3 separate regions of the Homo sapiens genome follow, and regions 1 and 3 are each linked to region 2. The links are contacts of gene promoters, found by promoter capture Hi-C in human tissues and cell types (Jung and others, 2019). All regions are on one chromosome and are shown on one strand. Each heading gives the region's core, a stretch centred on a gene start or on the middle of the fragment in contact. The rest is flanking DNA. Distances are from core to core; before and after follow the strand shown. Region 1 holds the start of MACROD1 (mono-ADP ribosylhydrolase 1). Region 2 holds the start of RPS6KA4 (ribosomal protein S6 kinase A4). Region 3 has its middle 9.9 kb from the start of SLC22A11.

What was found. The method cuts DNA at HindIII sites, captures the fragments that hold promoters and counts their contacts. A contact is called where the count stands out against the background at its distance.
Region 1: a contact is called between the fragment with the promoter of MACROD1 here and the fragment with the promoter of RPS6KA4 in region 2, in 1 of the 25 tissues and cell types used here (spleen).
Region 3: a contact is called between a fragment that was not itself captured here and the fragment with the promoter of RPS6KA4 in region 2, in 1 of the 25 tissues and cell types used here (dorsolateral prefrontal cortex).

What each region holds. Positions count from the first base shown.
Region 1 is chr11:64,164,820-64,167,990 of GRCh38, forward strand. It overlaps MACROD1 (mono-ADP ribosylhydrolase 1), which reads right to left and starts at 1,294. Exons shown (of 11, transcript NM_014067.4): 1 at 878-1,294. The coding sequence starts at 1,175. It overlaps LOC105369339 (a long non-coding RNA gene), which reads left to right and starts at 1,419. Exons shown (of 3, transcript XR_950187.3): 1 at 1,419-1,770. RefSeq lists an enhancer at 813-1,313 and silencers at 851-950, 1,081-1,160, 1,421-1,680. The HindIII fragment of the contact is 20,905 bases long and covers 1-3,171 here.
Region 2 is chr11:64,357,873-64,360,960 of GRCh38, forward strand. RPS6KA4 (ribosomal protein S6 kinase A4) reads left to right here and starts at 1,290. Exons shown (of 17, transcript NM_003942.3): 1 at 1,290-1,418; 2 at 1,506-1,577; 3 at 2,291-2,509; 4 at 2,605-2,720. The coding sequence starts at 1,364. RefSeq lists a silencer at 1,076-1,565 and enhancers at 1,315-1,842, 2,576-2,685. The HindIII fragment of the contact is 21,233 bases long and covers 1-3,088 here.
Region 3 is chr11:64,544,401-64,547,599 of GRCh38, forward strand. No RefSeq gene overlaps it. Among named protein-coding and RNA genes, the nearest start is that of SLC22A11, 9.9 kb to the right of the region's middle. The HindIII fragment of the contact is 7,372 bases long and covers 1-3,199 here.

The DNA of each region.
Region 1 (3,171 bases), core at 44-2,543, 190 kb before region 2:
CACAGGATCCCAGGAGGCAGGCCCTGAAAGGCAGGGGCAGCTGGGTGCCCGGCAGGGCTATTTGGGGCTCAGTAGCGGCAGCTTGGGTTCTCTCTCTCCCCAGGCCCCAGACTCATGCCCCCTCCAGGAGCAAGAGGAAGTGGTGTGATTCTTGAAGGGTGTCATCAGTTGTCACAGGGACAAGACCCCACCTCTGCCCTGCTCCTCTAACCTCTGTTCCTGGCATGAGCAAACTGCTCACAAGTGGCCAGAGGCCAGCGAGAAGGGGAAAAGGGCGCCAGACCACGTGCCCAGGAAGGCATCAGAGTGCGGGCTTGGGGTGGGGTGGAGGCAGGACAGGCCAGCCCAGGAAGGTCACTCTGTGAGGTTACGTGCCCCACCAGGTGGGACGCCAGCCCCGGAGCTGTTCCCTCAGCCCCATTCCCGAACACTTAAGAACCACACTGTGCAAAGTTTGGAGAGTCCGGGATCATAACCTCCACTTTGCCACCAGCTCCGAGTGACCTTGGGGAAGCCAGCTGTGGCACTCGGCCTCAGTTTCCCTCCTGCACAGGGAAGGAAGTTGGTAGGTCCTGCACAATCTCTGGGGTGCCCTGTGACCCATTCCAATGGGGTAAGGAAGGCCGCCTTCCTCACGCTGCCCCCTGCGTGGACACTTGGACCTGGTCTGGAGTGAATTGTTCTGTGGGGCTGGGAACACGCGCGGGGGCGGGGGGGGCTGTCAATGGGGAGGAGGGGTCCGTTCCAGGGCAGATGGGGCCTCAACTTCCCCAGGTCTCTCGGGTGGAAGGGGCTGCTCGCTCGTTGGGGGCCGCCCAGCCGGGAAGCTCCACGTGAGGCCGCCCTCTCCCTCGCGCCCCCTCGTGCTTACACTTACATTTCGCCTCCTTCCAGTCGGTGGAGGTGCTCAGGTCCACCTTCGCCGCCATGGCCAGGGGGGCCCAAGTGCGCACCCCGGCTGTCCGCCCCACCGCCGCCGCCCCCCACGCCCCAACTCCCGCCGAGGTCCGCGCACGGCGGCCGAACACGCCCAGGAACGCCGGGGGACCGCACGTGCTGCTGCGGGTCCTCGTGGCACCCGCCAAGTGTCCGGGCCGGGGGCGCGGGGGGACGAGCAGCTGCCCCGCCGCGCGCAGCTGTGCCAGGCGGCCGGACAGTCGGCTCTGTAGAGACATGAGCGGGCGGCGCGGGACGGCTCTCCGCCCACTTGGACTCTATTTACGGCGCTCGGGAGTGTCTCTCCCTTATTTACTCTGGGACCGGGTGGCGACTGCCAGCCAGCGGCGACCTGCTCGGAGCCAGCGGGAGGCGCGGCCAGAAAACCCGGGAGCGCCGCTGGGCACCCTGGAACTTGTAGTCCGGGCCGCCGGATGGGCCCACGCACTCGTATACACACGTGCGCGCCCGCCCGGGCTCCCAGTGTCGCGGATGGAGCCCCGCCTGAGCCCTTCGACTTCTCCCGTGGCCGCCAGGCGCCTCCCCTCCGCGAGACCTCGGCCGCCTCTAACTTTCTGGTTGGCTGAGCGTCGGCTTCCCCGGCACGGGCTGAAGCCCCCGGGCCTTCCACGCAGCCCCGGGCCCCTCTGCCGCTCGGCCCCGCGGCGGAGCAGGCGCGCCGGCCGCTGCGTATCGAGCTGGGAGAGCCTGGCGCGGCTTCCGCAGTGCCGAGCGTTTTGCAGCCTGGGAGACCCGGGCTTCTCTCCCCGCGGGTCAGCAGGGCACCGCCTCCACACCCCAGCCTGCCCTCCTAGGGACAGGTGCGACGAACGGGTAAATCCGGTTTGGGGACTTCTCCCCAGAGCCTCTGCCTTCTAACAGCCCCGGGGCCAAGGCTCAGCTGGAGCAGAATCTAGGACAGCTGGGGAGGAGAGTCGAGGGTGGAAATAGTGGAATTTGGAGGCAGGAAACTTAGGCTTCAAGTGGCGTTCAAGGGTGGAAGGATTGGGGTGATGTTTTTGTGTGTGTCTGTGTGTTTTTTTTTTTTTTTCTTTTCTTTTTTAAACAAAAACCGGCCGGGCGCGGTGGCTCACGCCTGTAATCCCAGCACTTTGGTAGGCCGAGTTGGGTGGATCACGAGGTCAGGAGTTCGAGGCCTGCCTGGCCAACATGGCGAAACCCCGTCTCTACTAAAAATACAAAAATTATGCAGGCGTGGTGGTGCATGCCTGTTAATTACAGCTACTCGGGAGGCTGAGGCAGGAGAATCACTTGAACCCGGAAGGCGGAGGTTGCGGTGAGCCGAGATCGTGCCATTGCACTCCAGCCTGGGTGACAGAACGAGACTCTGTCTCAAAGAAAACAAAACAAAAAACACGAGGATGGATTTTTAAGTACTTTTATATATTTTTATGTACTATTAATATTACTTTATGATAAATATAATGAATACAGGCCGGGCCATTATAATAATATAATGAATGTAATAATGAATAATGAATAAGTGCTCACACCTGTAATCCCAGCACTTTGGGAGGCTGAGGCAAGAGGATTATTAGAGGCCAGGAGTTCAAGACCAGCCTGGGCAATATAGTGAGACCCCCTCATCTCTACCCGCCCCCACACAAAAAAATTACCCTGGTATGGTGGTAGACACTCACCTCTAGTCCCAGCTACTCCAGAGGCTGAGGCAGGCAAACACTTGAGCCCAAGGGTTCAAGGCTACAGAGAGCCATGATGGCACCACTGCACTACAGCCTGGACGACACAGTGAGACCCTATCTCAAAAGTAATAATAATAATGAATATATTTTAATACGAGGGAGGAACGAGCCAGGGTTTCAGAGAAGGTTCTAGTACTAGTGTTGCTGCCCTAGGGTACCCTAGCCCCTTAAGACTCAAACTTCTTGAGCTGTCAGCTAGGAATAAGAGAGTCTGGCTGGTTGCAAACCTGCTCCTGTGCTCCAGGCCTCTGACTCTGAGTGTGGCAATAACCATGGATGGCCGTACGAGGATCCCTGACCTGCCATGGATGCAGATGGAACCACTGGGATGGTGACACGGGCTCACCCTTGGACTCCAGACATTAAATCTGCCCAAGAGAGGATCAGCATAGACTTGCCAGCAGCAGGGTAGGCAGTCATCAGTACTGGGAGTGAGGGCAAAGGGGAGCCAGAGGCCAGGAAGGAAGAGCCCACGGCCCCCAGCATTCCAGGACCACCAGCAAGGCCTGCA
Region 2 (3,088 bases), core at 40-2,539:
TCCTTGAGGTTGAGCCCCCTCCCCAGGGAGTTCTCAGCCTGGCGGGGCATCACTTAATGCCAGGGGTTGCCAGGAGAGGTGGGAGGGACGCTGGCTCTCTGACCAGGGCCTCTAGCCTGATGCCTGAGAGGCGGGGCAATTCGGCTGGGGTGCAGGATGTGAGTCAGGGTACCTGGGGCCACCCAGGGGAGGGTGGAGCTGCCCAGGGCTGAGATAAGGCAGCCTGAACTTGGGGGGTGCAGAGCTGGGAGGGACGGTCCGTCCGGCCTCCCAGGTGTGACCTGCAGCAGCTTGAGTTCCTCCTCCTCTCAGCCAGGGCTTCACAGGACAGGGGCGTGGGGTGGACACCCTGGCCTCTCCAGCTGGCAGAGGAGCTGAGAGCCCCTCCCACCGGCCTCAGGGTGTGGGGCCTCATGGCTGTCCCACTCTGCTAGGTGGCCCCATTGGTGGTCAGGAAGGGAAAGGCAGGAAGAAGACGGAGCAGGGGCTCAGGAGGACCAGTCAGCAGGGGCCCTGGGCCTCATGGGGAGAGGGGGCAGCCCCGTGTGGCACTGACATCTCTTCTTGAGGCCTGCTCAGGGCTCTAAGCTGGGTACTGCACCAGGCTAGGAGACAACAGGAGCAGAACACGTGAGGTGCGCATGGCACCTGGTGGGCTCTGCACGGTGACTGGGGGCTGAAGTGCTTCTGCAGGCACCCCCGACAGAAAGCTGGTCAGAAAACTGGCCACTCCTCTCCTTGCCATGGGGTCCCAGGCCGGGCTCCAGCCCCCTCTTGGTGATGAGGCTCCTCCTTGCAAAGGCCAGTCCTCTGGGGAGAGGGGCCCTGCTGGCCACCCCCAGGACGATGGAGTGGGGTGGGCTCCACTGCCTGAGAGTTGGGTGACTTCCAGGATCCAGACCCCCTCTCAGCCTGCCCAGCACCAGGCACCTCGTCCCCCACCTTGGGGCACAGACTCCTAATGTCCTCCAGCCACTGGCTGCAGCCGGCATTCCCGGGCAGATTCCTGGCTTGGGGACTAATGCCCCAGAGGCTCCAGGTTACCCACGGGCTCAGGGATGGCTCCCACGGGGTGTTTCCAGTTCCCGGGAGAGTCGAGTAAGGTCCCGGAGCGCACGGCCCTGAGGCCTGGCCTGGGGGCTCGGGAGACAGGGCGGCCCCAGCCGGCCGCCCACCGGCAGCCCGGCGCTGTCACGTTCCAGCCGCCTGACTCAGGCCGCGCAGGGCGGGGAGCCGGGAGGCGGTGCCGGCGCCCGCCTCGGCCCCGGAGGCGGCACCAGGAAGCGCCCGCCCCGGCCGGAGCCGCCATGTAACCGGCGCCGCCCGGAGCCCGAGCCGCGCGGGCCCCAGCGACCCGCCCGCCATGGGGGACGAGGACGACGATGAGAGCTGCGCCGTGGAGCTGCGGATCACAGAAGGTGGGTGTGGGGCCTGACTGCGGCTGCCCGGGGCAGGCCGGGACGGGTCATGGACCGGCTGGGCTCATTCGCCCCCTGTGCCCACAGCCAACCTGACCGGGCACGAGGAGAAGGTGAGCGTGGAGAACTTCGAGCTGCTCAAGGTGCTGGGCACGGGAGGTGAGGACCCCCATCCACCGGGCAGGCGTCCCAGGCGCGGTGCCCCTGACCTCCTGCCTGCTCACTCTTGGGCCTGGGCCAGGCCACTGAGCAGGCCCCCCACCCTTTCCCGGCACAGCCTGCCTTGCCTGCCCCGCCCTGCCTCGCCAGAGTTTGCATGCCCACTTCCAGGGCACTCCACATTGACATCACTCCTCCCTCCACGGTCCTGTGCGTGCATACCCCCCTGGATTTGCCAACACCCTGGGGAGGGGGACTGGCGCCCCTCTCAAGTGATTTGCATAGCTCCTCCCTTTCTTCCAATATGGGATCCCCCTCCCACATTTTGCAAATGCCCCAGCGCTGGTTTGCGCATCCCTTCCCCAGCCAGGTGCACACCTCTGCCTCCCTTCCTTGCACTGGCATCTTTTCACATCCATCTGATCTCTCGCAGGTTTGCATATGCCCCGCCCCCATGCCTCGCAGCAGGCCCCCTGGAGATGCATGCTCCCCAGCCTGGTTTGCACATCCTTTCCCTGGTTTTGCTGGGCACCCTCCCGGGGTGTGCACACCCTTTCCTTAGAAGGCTCTGCCAGCTTTTTGCACACCTGCCTGTTGCCCCAGCTCCTTCGCCTCATTTGCACACCCTCCTGGGTTGGCATCGCCCCCACCCCCCAAGCCTGCACCAATCTCCCGCTCACAGCCCACCCTCCACCCACTCGCTGCTCCCACAGCCTACGGCAAGGTGTTCCTGGTGCGGAAGGCGGGCGGGCACGACGCGGGGAAGCTGTACGCCATGAAGGTGCTGCGCAAGGCGGCGCTGGTGCAGCGCGCCAAGACGCAAGAGCACACGCGCACCGAGCGCTCGGTGCTGGAGCTGGTGCGCCAGGCGCCCTTCCTGGTCACGCTGCACTACGCTTTCCAGACGGATGCCAAGCTGCACCTCATCCTGGGTGAGCGCACACCACATCCCAACGGGGTTGGGGTGGCTGGGGGCAGGCGAGGCCACCTGACGGGGCTGCTTCCTGACTTCCACTGCACCTCCCAGACTATGTGAGCGGCGGGGAGATGTTCACCCACCTCTACCAGCGCCAGTACTTCAAGGAGGCTGAGGTGCGCGTGTATGGGGGTGAGATCGTGCTGGCCCTGGAACACCTGCACAAGGTGGGTGAAGACCTGGCCGCAGGCTGTTGCTATGGAAACTGGGTCTGTGCCTTGGAAGGAATCTGCACGCAGGGCAGCCTCAGGCTTCCCCCTGGGCTTCCTGGGGGGCCAGTGGTGAGCTGGGTGGGAATTGGAGCTGCTTCCCCTGGACCCCTTGCAGGAAGCCTCAACGTTGCCTGGTGGGGTCCCCTCCCCTGGCACCTCCTCGAAGGGGCTTTCCTCTTTCAGGGAACTCGGGGCTGCGTTCACAGAACTTCCTCAAATGGAAACCTCACGGCCTGGCTCCTAAGGCCTCCTTGAAATGGAGCTCTTCACACAGACTTTCCTCTCTCTGGGACCTTGGGGCCTGATCCACGGGGCCCTCCTTC
Region 3 (3,199 bases), core at 660-3,159, 190 kb after region 2:
CCAGGAAACTCCTTTGTCATGAACTTCCAGGTCACTGTATTCCCCTCATTATTCAATCTATTAATTAGTGGTTTCAGAATTTGCCCATCAAGTTGACAATTTCCAAAACTGAAAAGATTTCCTTTTCTCGGGAACCTATTTCTTTTAAAAAATTGATGTCCTCTCAAATTTCCCTGGAAATAGAAACTACAGCGGTTTTACCTTTTTCTTCTGTTTACTGCATTACTTCATCGTCCTCCTGTGTTGGTTCTTTTGTTTGTTGAGTTTGGTGTCTCTCTTTTGGTGCATTGGATTCTTGCATTTTTAGTGTTTCTTTGTTGCCTCTTCATATTTGAAGATGGTGGGGGGAGGGATATGGACAAAATTGTTTCCTAGAATGTCCTTCCTCAGGCTAAGTGGGAATTCCTGTTGGCTTAGCCATGCATGAAAGCTTTGTGCTGGAGAACCCTGTCTACAGTGATTGTGACGTGTGGGCAAGTGAAAGAGGCCTGTGGCCAGGAGGCACTGGTGGATCTGATTTTCTGAGTAAAGGGTTCTGCTTCCCCATGGGATCCTTAAGTTGCCTGGGGTGCTGCCCTTTTTCTCTGGCCTACCATGCAGTTTCAGAACTCCATTTAGCTGTTCTTGCACCTTGACCTCCAGGCAAACATGGAATTCAATGCCAAGTGGTGTTTGGTGGAGGGAGGGTGGGGCACAGTCAATCTGCTCACCCTGATGCTGTTAATTACCCAGATGTTCTTGGCCTGTGCCCACACTGCAGCCTCTCACCTAGTGCTGTCCTCCTAGGAAGGCTCAGGTGTTTGGGCCTCCTTTCCCTCCTGCATGTGGTGCAGGTCCCTTGGTCTGAGGTTTCATTGTCCATCTGTCCCATGATCTTTATGTCTTATGCAGATTCTTTCCCTAGTTTTCCATTTCTCACCTTTCCCATGCTGCTCTGGGACTGCCAAACTATTTCCTTTCTGGATCCACTTGGATTTGGTTGGAGGAGGTAAATGAGTGCCCCACTAGCCATCCTGAACCGTGAGCCCCTCCATGTCCCTGGGAAAACAGAGAGCTGTTTGACCCAGGAGACCTGTGTGACCCAGAGCTTCGGGTTCTTGCACCTCTTGGGCGATGTCACCCAGTAGGTTCCTTAAGGGCAGGATCCTTAGTTGGCAAAGAAGTGGCTGAGTGAACTCAGTCTGTAGCTAGGTTGAGACCAATGAAGAGAAGGGTCTGAAGTCTACCTGCCGCCAGGGCAAGGGCGCATATGTCAGGAAGAGTGGGAAGGGGGGCTGGGGAGAACGTATGCCCCCAGGCTTCTGCCTCTCCAGTTGTCTGCGCAAAGAACAAATCCTAGTGCGCTGTGGCAGGGGCGGCACGTCTGTTTGCTCTCACGTGCCACTCCGTTCCTTGCTCCATTGCCTGATGATGCAGAGGATAGGAATGGACTTGGCCATGGCGCGCTGCCAGCCTGCATGGTGACACACATCCCCTCGCTTATTCAGCAAGCACTGAGTAGGCACCTCCAGTGTGCAGGCAGGGCTCAGGCACCAAGGGGTTTAGTGATATGCGTTCCCATCTGCAAGGAGCTTATATTTCGACGGAGAGGCTGCCATGGAAATAAACATAAAGTCCCTCTTGGAAACCCCTTCCGAGGAGATAGAAGGTGTGGAATAGTCGTGGCTGTGGAGAATGGTCAAGGCCAGGGCGTCTTAAACTTCAGTGGGCACACAGATCACTTGGGGCTCTTAGTAAATGCAGATTCTGATTCTGGAGGTCTGGGTTGGGATCTGAGATTCTGCCTTTCTAAAGAACTCACAAGTGACATTGATGCTGCTGGTCCATGGACCACACTTTGAGTAGCAAGGGTAGAGGGAAGCCCCAGCTTCCTGCCATGTCCTGATGCTGTCCTGTGGGTGCTGGGGGCACCTGTGGGAACCCACCAGGAACTGCTGCTCCGGAGGCCTCTGAAAGAGGCCCTGTCCCAACCCCAGGCCCAGGGGCAGGCTGGAGGCCGGTTTGCAGGTCAGCCTGGGCTGCAGGTCCCCCACTGCCCTTCATGCTGCTCCAGAGGAAAAGTGCTGGGAGGTGGCTTTGCCTGGACAGGACACAACCCAGCAGCTGTGGACTTGGTCAGGGAAGACCTCTCTTCAGAATTTTGGGGATTGGCTCTGTTCTTGGGGGAGGCCTGGGTCAGATGATGTTCTGTAGCCGTCCACACAGCCCTGGGGCTTCAGAGCTTGTAGTAGGGTCCTCGTGAGCACTGAGTGAGACCTCCGCAGGAAGCTAACACAGGGTGGGTGCCCAGGGACCCTTGGGTGTCTTGGGGGCCAGATGACTCAGCAGCAGTCACTGCTGCCATCGGGCTTGGCTCTCTCAGGTCACTCAGGGTCAAGGTAAAGTCTCCAGGCAACTGGAGAGTCATGCCCTGCTGCCCATGACAGTGGCTCAGGGCCAGGTCAGATGTGGCCATCCTCGGGACCATGCTGGGAACTGTCTCCCTAACCAGGGAGCTCTGGGGCTCCTTTCAAGGTAGCGAAGGATGCTGAGCCATAGTTAATAGGCTTACAGGTTAATCCAGCATGTGACCAGGACAGGCGTGTGCTTCGGCGGGTGGAGGTCAGGATGCTGCCCCCTTACCAAAAAGAGATGCTCTGAAGTTCTGGAACTCTGTGCATGCCATTGAGATCGCCACAAGAGCCGGTGAGACTTTGCTAGGACCATGAGGCACTCTAGGCAGTCCCTGCCCATCCACCTCTGGGCTGGAGTGCAGTGGCACGATCAGGGCTCACTGCAACCTCCACTTCCCAGATTCAAGCAATTCTCCTGCCACAGCCTCCCAAGTAGCTGGGACAGGCGAGTGCTACCATGCCCAGCTAATTTTTGTATTTTTAGTAGAGATGGGGTTTCACCATGTTGGCCAGGCTGGTCTTGAACTCCTGGCCTCAAGAGATCTGCCTGCCTTGGCCTCCCAAAGTGCTGGGATTACAGGCGTGAGCCACTGTGCCTGTTCCCCACCTCTTTAAAATGTATTGAATTCACATTCTCCTCACCATCTCCACAGTCTGTGCCCCGTTCAGGCCAGGAAAAGCCTCTTCCTGGTTCTCCTCTCTGTAGCCCTGTCTCATCTGAGCCCACCTTACATTTTCATCCACCTGAGACATTCTCCTAGTAATCAGACCCTCCTCCCCCATCTTTCCTGGTCTGGCCTTGGGGC